Linked DNA regions of Homo sapiens: all the other regions are linked to region 3. Evidence: promoter capture Hi-C in 16 types of primary human blood cells and fetal thymus (Javierre and others, 2016). All regions are on one chromosome and are shown on one strand. Each heading gives the region's core, a stretch centred on a gene start or on the middle of the fragment in contact. The rest is flanking DNA. Distances are from core to core; before and after follow the strand shown. Region 1 overlaps NTM (neurotrimin). Region 2 overlaps NTM (neurotrimin). Region 3 holds the start of NTM-AS3 (NTM antisense RNA 3).

Region 1 (2,819 bases), core at 294-2,793, 220 kb before region 3:
CACCCTGACCCTGATTTCATATTCAAAGCAAATGAGGTCCAGGGAAGAAGGGCTTATAGAGGTCATTGCCTGAGACAACTTTAGTGATTAAGATGAATTGCATATCCTCAGGCTCCTGCGGTGAAACCCTCCCCATCTCTAAAATGGGAATGAAACCGCTGGCCCCTTCTACTTTTCTCCTGTGAACACTGCAAACTTTGAGGAGAGTTAAACCAGATGAGCATATCAAGGTGACCACTGGACATATTTTGATAGCAGAAAAAGGCATTACAATGATTAATTCAAGATATTAGATCATGGAAAAATCACGAGTGTACGTGCTCTCTCTCTCTCAAACATACACACACACGCACTCCCCACAAAATACATTCCATCCCACCTCTTCCAGCAGAGCTAAGCTTGCAGCAGCCTATGCATACTCTACCAAGAGGCACCTTGGGGTTCAGACGACAAATAAACTGTACAGTAGATTCCACATCCACGGAGAATCTAGAAAAGGACGCTAAGCTCTCTTTTCTTGCTATTGGCATATCTCTCTCTGGGGACTCCTGTGGATATTAACGCCTACTAATCCTTGCAGAACCCTAAGCAGGGAGGCAAATACTATTCTATGCCTACTACCAGATGAAGAAAGAAAGGAGCCAGCAACATAGATGATTTATCCAATGTGGTTTACAGATTTGGTCTTCAAAAGAGGTCCTATTCTTTATATGGAGTGATTCAAAATTTAATCATTGGTCATAGTCTGGTCCCTCTTTTGCCCACAGCAAAGACACTGTCTCTTGCAACCTTAGAGGAGGAAATAAAAGCCATTAGCTGGGTCTAAAGTGTCTCAGGCCACTGTTTTTAGGGAGACCTAAACTCAGTCGGGTAAACTGAGTTTTGTCACCCCTCACTCTCATTCTTTTCCCTTTTCTCTTCTTCAAATTTCTAAGTCTACCAACTCCTGGGAAGAGCAGAAACATTCTGGCATTCTCTCAAAAATCTTGGTCCCATATATTGAGAGACTGTAGCAATACAACGTCTACATTTGAAGGAGCCATGAGCTCTGATCAGTTTTAAAGCCAGAGCTGCTCAACATGTGCAGAAAGAAAATAGCAACATAAACAGGAGGAAACAAAGACAAGAACTAAAAAAAAAAAATCATCAGCCGAGCTGTAGAACCAAGCTGTGACTGGGAGGGAAGGCAAGCGGGGGGCTCAGACGGGGGTCCTGATTCGCGTGCAATAGAGAATGCCCAGAATCGCATTCTTCTGAGATTTGTCAATTTCCCTTCTCTCTAGCTCTGATGGGGGCTTTTTACACCAGAACATATACTCTTTATATAGCGTGTTATAAATCTGCATCTCCCCAGGAGCTGATGCAAGGCAGCCATGCCATTCTCATGCTAGCCCTTGATGGGGACTCGGTCTAGACCAGTGGCACTGCTCTGCTGTGTGAACCCTAACCCAGCACTGCCTGTGCATTGCCAGGTGATTGCATTTCATTTAACAGCTCTGCCCTTCTGTAGCCTTGGTGCAGAAGGTCCCCAAAGCCCATCAGATATGGCTCTTTGGCAGAGAGGCGTGATGCCACGGGACCAGAAGACTGCCAGCTTATTTCCATTGTGACTGAAAATCCCATTTCAGCCTAGGATGGCAAAGGCAAACAATTTAATGCATTAACCTGCACTGACTCCTCACCCAGCTGCTTCCCGTCCTGATTGAACGGTAAGAAGGTTAATTATTCCCAGGCTCATCTTCAGACTTCACAGACCATATCATCACTGCTGGCAGGGGTGCCTGGTCTGGCTGAACCCAGGCTGTGGAGGCCGGTGGTGGTAATGGAATTGGCTGTTCCTGCTGCTGCGACCCCAGCTCCACTCTTTGATATCAGAAGGGTCAGTCATGATGTCAAGCGCACATGTCCCCATTCCAGGAGTACAAGGAGTGATGGTTTTTCTTACTGCACAGTGTGCTTTGGAAAATTTGCCCAACTGTAGCAGTGCACCCTTCAGCCATTGATGATCTCAGTAGACACCACTTGCAGGACGAGCACCTTCTCCTTACAAATCCAGTGTCCAGGGTGACCACAGAGCTACAGCCCTGGGGAGCTACAGCCTCTGGGAATAAGCTCCAGACACAGTAAGAAGTAGAGGAGACCGGCTGATGCCAATGTGGGGCACTGTCTGCCCAGGTCCCAGGGCCCAGAGCATGGGGGCCACCCATGGATGAGAGAACATCTTTTCATCCGCTGGAAACTGGAGAATGAGACAGAGAAAGAATGTGGCAGGCTGGGGGGAGAGGCGCTTCTACTATACACTATCTATCTCTACTCCTCCCCCTCCCAGCCCCTTCACCCCCTTGAGGACATCATCCTTAAAATATATTTCATTTCACAGCTGCATTATGGTACCACAAAATCCCGGGAATCCAATTTAAGAACAGATTACCTCCTCACTTACTTCATTTGAAGCAATTACATGTTAATTTTCATTGAAACCAGCCTAATGCATACCAATCTGACGCTGCGATCTCATTTGAATACGTAAGGGAACATCCAGAGAGTTTGGGGGTGCCAGAGATTTATATTTAAAGGGCCACTTCATCATTCCTTTTGTTGGTGGGCTCTCATCTATTTCTGGTACCCTTTCCGTGGCTCTTGAGGACAGAAGTTCTCTCATGGTGAAATAAGAGCAGATAAGCTTTCTCCAAAACAGCAGTAGCTGTCCTTGGAGAGGAAGCCCGTGTTCCGAGGTTTCTTTCTTCTCTCTGCCATTTATGTGCTGTGCGATTGCGATGAAAACACCTCCACCTTGCTTTATCTTCCTTGCAAAGTCA
Region 2 (2,773 bases), core at 137-2,636, 250 kb before region 3:
CTTGGAGCCCATATAAGATCACCTGGCTCTAATTCTAGCCATTTGCTTCAATAAGCATTTATTAAATGTTCACTTTGTATCAGGCATTCTGCGAGGTGTTCAGGGCAGGGGTGTGGGGGTGTGTGTGAGTGGGGGTGGCTGAAGAAAGAAAATGACAAAAATATGATCCAGTTTTCAAGGAGACATTAGCACTTTTCACAATTCCTTCCACTTTCCAGTTCCATGAGGCCCTGCTTCCTAAAGCAAATATCTCTAATAGTTCCTAGTTCCCAGTCTCTCATTGTCAATGCTAGGCATTCTTTTCTCAACACTAAGTGTGCAGGGGTTGGGGCAGGACAGGAGGGGGGCTGAGCAATAGCTTCCAAACCACCACCTGGTAGAGTATGCAGATGGTGGCACCAGGGCATTCACCAGCCCTGCCCACAGAGTGGAGATTCTCAAGCATTTTTGGCCTCCCTATCCATAATAAAAAATGTATTTTACATTAAAAAATGTACACAAACTGAAACAAAAATCTCACATGGCAATACCTACTCCACTCTTTGTAATACACTCTGATACCTTCTATGCAATTCTATTTTCTTTAAAATTGCTGTTTGCATGCATCAGTTCAAAAAGTATTCATTTATAGAATCATTTTTTAAACAGCCATTGTAATTTCCTTTGGGGAAGAAAGAGTAAGCAAAATATAATAAAAACTTGGCATGACCAAACTTGGGCCACAGCATCAAGGATTCCCATGTCCCCTGGCATACGTTCTGCCCACAGCCAGGTCCAGCATCACCTTGTTCTCATGTGTCCTCCTCTCAGTCCTGCTCACCCTGCCTCACTCAACAGTGCTGATCACGACCCAAGTTCCGCCTTCCCCTACTGTCAAACAGCAGGCCTCCCCTTCCTTCTTCCGGCTCACTTCAGTTCTTCCTTCTCAAGCTGCCTTCCTTCCTATTCTGTCTCTAACCAATCATCCCATAGTTCTTTACCCTTTTCTTGAACACACCGACAAGGGGACTGGTGGAAGGAGCCCCTAGGAGAGGAGTTTGTCACCCTGGAGCTACACGTCCCTGGTTGAAAGGGCCTCGGGATCAGCCTGGGAAAGGGCTCCAGCACTGGATCTGGCATGCCGCTGCTCAGGGGCTATACTGCTGACATCACAAAATAAGATATTTGACCCACTGTAAAAGATGCTCAAAAATTTTAAAAATTACAAAAGTCCTAAAAAAGAGAAAAGAAAGCTCCATAGCTAACACTGAAATAGCACTTGTATGTGCCACGCCCTCTTCTACGTGTTTTCTATGTCAGTACGTTTACAGTTCAATCCTCACGTTGACCCCCTTTACAGAAAGAGAACCCTGAGACACGGTAATAACTTGATTAAGGTCTCACAGCCAGAAAGTGGCCAAGTGTGATGCCAGCTCTTGCTCACTAACTAGGAATCCTTCAACCGGGTTAAGTGTTGTCTGAATGCCCCAGGACTGGTTCTGCCTTGTGGGAAGAGGTGAGCTCCATTCCCAGGGTCTAAGAGAGCATAACCAACACACATATTCTCTCTCTCTCTCTCTCTCTCTCTCACACACACACACACACACACACACACACACACACACACAAACATACAAGGCCTCATGAACTAGGAGTCAGGGGAGGAGAAGAAGGCCAGGAGAGTTGGGATGGAATCAAAACAGGGAGAATCAGACACCAGTATTATATGGGAGAAATGGCATCCAAAACCCCTGGCTGGGAGAGGAGAGGAGGCGCAAGTGAGCTGGAAACAAGCAGGTGCTTGTGAAGGATGCAGCTGAGGGCAGTGCCCAGTGCATCCTGGTTGGCTCTGCTTTCGTTCAAGGCTGGAGGGGGACATGGCATACCTGTACTTCCAAAAGTGCATTAAAAGTCTGGTTTTAAACATAACACAGTCTTGGAATTGGATGAAATCTAAAAAACAAAACAAAACAAAACAAAAAACAAACAAACAAAAATAACTAAAACTTAGGGGAGAAAAAAGCCAAGAAGAGCAATAATTACAAGATAATTTCCTGAGAAAATATATTATTGGAACAAAAATGAAAAAAACAATTCCTAGTTCCACTCAATGAAAATGACTGGAAAATTTAGCTTCTAACTGCAAAATGACAACCAGAAATGTGCCCTGGACCCCAGATGCGTAGAATAAGGATAACTCATCTCTGTTGAGGATCAGAGAACAAACCTTTACCTGAAGGCTTTCCAGGCTGGCCAGCCAGATCTCCCCGCCAAGCCCCGCCCACCTACCTTGCACAATGAGGTGGACCCTAGAGGTCTTTGGGTGGTTGTCTGTCTGCACCGAGCAGGTGTAAGGGCCCTCGTCATACACATCCACGTTCTGGATCTCGATGCTGTACTGCGTTTGGGTGTTGCTCAGAAGGACCACGCGAGGATCCAGGCACCACTTGTCATTCCCAGCATAGAGGATGGTGCTGCGGTTTAGCCAGGCCACCCGGGTGACCCGGTTGTCAATAGTGCACCTGAAGGGAAGACCAGACAGGTACGTCAAGGGACTGAGAGACGACAGCAGCCATCAGAGGGAGGTCCTCATGGCAAGGCTAGAATATCTTGTCTTTCTCCCTTCCCCCAACACATACATTTCCTTTGATTTGTCAGGGGTGGACTTTTCTGGAACACAGCAAAGGTCTTATGGGATTACAGCCTCAGAATGTTGCTCGGAGCTTCTCAAACCACTTGAGCACAGAACCACTTCAAATACGATCTCAGTTATAACCTAGAGGTACCTTGCATG
Region 3 (2,836 bases), core at 134-2,633:
GTAAGTTAGTTGAAAAGATTATTTTTGATTGCCCAGTAGGGATGAGAACACCCTTCTCACATTTATTCAACAAGCATATCCTAGGGTAGGTGGCGTGTTACATCAGGGACTGTCATATCCTTGGTATCCAACCTCCATGGCTACAGACTGCTGGAAGAGATGAATGTTAGAAATAATTGCACAGATAATCAATGAATCACAATTGGAGTCAATACTACAAAGGGAATGTACACAATTTCAAAAGAACAGAAAAGGGGAGAGTGTCTTATTTATAATCACTCGATCTCAGCAAAGAACAGGTAAAACACATTCAATGATAAATGGGAGAAGAATTAATGAACGAATGAATAAACATGTAAAAAATATCTAGGCCTGTGCGTCTCAATGTTTTTCCACAAAGCCAGTTGGTCATACTTCCCCACAGGCAGACATCAGCACTGGTTCCCTTTCCTTCTTCTAAAAGGCAGTCATATTCCAGAGAACTGGCGTGCTTTCCCACATTCTTATTATTTATCAAACAAAAATAGAAGAGGTTTGTAAATCAGGTTATATAAACATTTCGAGCACAGTCATTCTGCTCTTAGGAGAGATAGCTAACCACACTCTCATAACAAATCCACTTTGATCCCAACATCCCACTTACGACCTCCTAGCACTCTCCATCCAAGAATAACATTAATAATAATCAGCCTATTAGCCAGGGTGCTTGGTTTGAATCCGAAATATTTGAGAAATGATCTTATAAATTATTTTCCAAGGATATCATCTTTAAGCATTAACAGGCACAACTGACACTGAATTCTGGGAATTGAGCATAATTACATGGAAATTGACACGACACAAATGCCAAGAATTCTGTTAACCTTTAATATCTTTTAAAAACTCTCCCCTCATAATTATCTCTTTCCTTTGTCTCAAATGTTACTGATGAATATTTAGAGGTATGAGCAAACAAAAAAAGTGGATGGATTGTGGAATATTGGTCTTTGTTTGGAATCCTAGAGTTTCCCAGGTGTTCCATCAAGAGGTGATAAATAGAATACTTGGAATTTGACTATTTTCAGAAGTTATTTCTACCTTTATATTTGCTCTACTCGAGTTTTCTGCTTATAATTTCCCATGCTGAGTAGAAGCTCCTTTGCATTAGTAATTACAGTAAAAGTGTAGTTCTAAGGCACTGGGTGTCTAACACAATTCCTGACCTGTGCTGTGTCTTTGCAAAAGTCATTGCACCTTTTCAGTGCTTCAGATACCATCTCTGTACAGTGAGTGTGATGACATTTAACTCCAACTGCAACAATATTTGCACAGTGATGTAAACTTTACCAAGGGCATTGCCAACCCTTTGCTCACTGGTAGATCAGTGCCTCTTAATTTTTTTCCTTCTTGCCAGTCTCCAATGCTACCACCAAGGCTCTCTTGCTTTTTTTCTTTCCCCTCTCTCTCTACTCTTTTAATTAAATCCTAACTCATCTCTCTGCTTCCAACCCTGCCTCTGCATTAGTCAGTGCTTCTTAACAGGGGCAGGGCACACTCCTTGGATTGTGGGAGTGGAAAATTGATTGGATATTGGTCACCACCATAATTGGAGAGGTACTGCTGCCGTTTAGTGTACAGAGGCCGCAGAGGTTAGAGACGCAGCAACGCATGGCTATTCAGCCACGGACGTCAAATGCCTGCCAGACATTTAGGTGAGTGAAACCTTTTTCTTTCAAAAATCTAAGCCTAGGCCGGGCGCGGTGGCTCACACCTGTAATCCCAGCACTTTGGGAGACCCAGGTGGGCGGATCACGAGGTCAGGAGATCGAGACCATCCTGGCTAACACAGTGAAAGCCCATCTCCAATAAAAATACAAAAAATTAGCCCGGCTTGGTGGCGGGCGCCTGTAGTCCCAGCTACTCCGGAGGCTGAGGCAGGAGAATGGCGTGAACCCGGGAGGCGGAGCTTGCAGTGAGCTGAGATCACACCACCGCACTCCAGCCTGGGCGACAGAGCCAGACTCCGTCTCAGAGAAAAAAAAAAAAAAAAAAAAAAAGCCTAAAATGTACTCCATTTGGCATGTAAACACAGATATTCTTGCCAGGTTTTAATATTCGCTAATTCTCCAGGAATGCAACTATCCTGCAAGTCAAAGAAAGACTGTGTTTGATTTGTTCACATCTTTACCAAGAAGTGTTCACTAGTTTGAAAAATCACGTACTCAGTGGGAATGTTTCTCATAATATTGAGTCATCAATTAATTCTACATCCTTGTAGCAGGTCTCTACTGTTGCTTAGCTGTCACATTCATGGTGATTCTGCATATAGACGCTTCCATACTTCATTATATCCTATGGGGTAGTTGTATCCAAATATTTATTTTACATTTATATTATTATCAATCATTTTCTATTTATTTCTCCTTCAGATTCAGTCAGACTTTATATAGGTCATTTTTTGAAGTATGTGATAGGTGTTATATGTTATCTGTGAACTTATTTTCTGCACAGTAATGAGGGTATTATAAAATATTTTCAATGATTTTTATGTTAGAAAAAGTTAAGAATAGCAGATGTACGGCATTTCACATGCAGAAGCCAGCTTTATCTTTCTCAGGCAGGGATCAGATGATGTCCTTTACTTATGTAGGAAGTTTCAGTGGCTCCCCCTGCCTATGACATAAAGACCCAACTCTTAAGACTGACAATCAAGAAGTATCCCAAGTTAATTAAATAGTGTTAGTCTTTGTTGTGGCCTCATTTTTGCACTCATGTAACATCCTAGGACCCAATCAACCTGGACTAGACGTTCTTCTTGGAAAGTTGCCCTGCATATCACAAACTGTGTAGATGCTCA

The links. The method cuts DNA at HindIII sites, captures the fragments that hold promoters and counts their contacts. A CHiCAGO score of 5 or more calls a contact.
Region 1: a contact is called between a fragment that was not itself captured here and the fragment with the promoter of NTM-AS3 in region 3, in 1 of 17 cell types (M0 macrophages). The highest score is 6.1, in M0 macrophages.
Region 2: a contact is called between a fragment that was not itself captured here and the fragment with the promoter of NTM-AS3 in region 3, in 1 of 17 cell types (monocytes). The highest score is 5.5, in monocytes.

Annotation. Positions count from the first base shown.
Region 1 is chr11:132,118,448-132,121,266 of GRCh38, reverse strand. The region is part of intron 2 of NTM (neurotrimin); the gene reads right to left. Among named protein-coding and RNA genes, the nearest start is that of NTM-IT, 160 kb to the left of the region's middle. The HindIII fragment of the contact is 2,285 bases long and covers 401-2,685 here.
Region 2 is chr11:132,146,010-132,148,782 of GRCh38, reverse strand. NTM (neurotrimin) reads right to left here. Exons shown (of 9, transcript NM_001352005.2): 3 at 2,269-2,501. Among named protein-coding and RNA genes, the nearest start is that of NTM-IT, 140 kb to the left of the region's middle. The HindIII fragment of the contact is 6,073 bases long and covers 1-2,773 here.
Region 3 is chr11:131,895,880-131,898,715 of GRCh38, reverse strand. It overlaps NTM-AS3 (NTM antisense RNA 3), which reads left to right and starts at 1,383. Exons shown (of 2, transcript NR_199062.1): 1 at 1,383-1,691. All of the region lies in intron 1 of NTM (neurotrimin), which reads right to left. The HindIII fragment of the contact is 6,910 bases long and covers 1-2,836 here.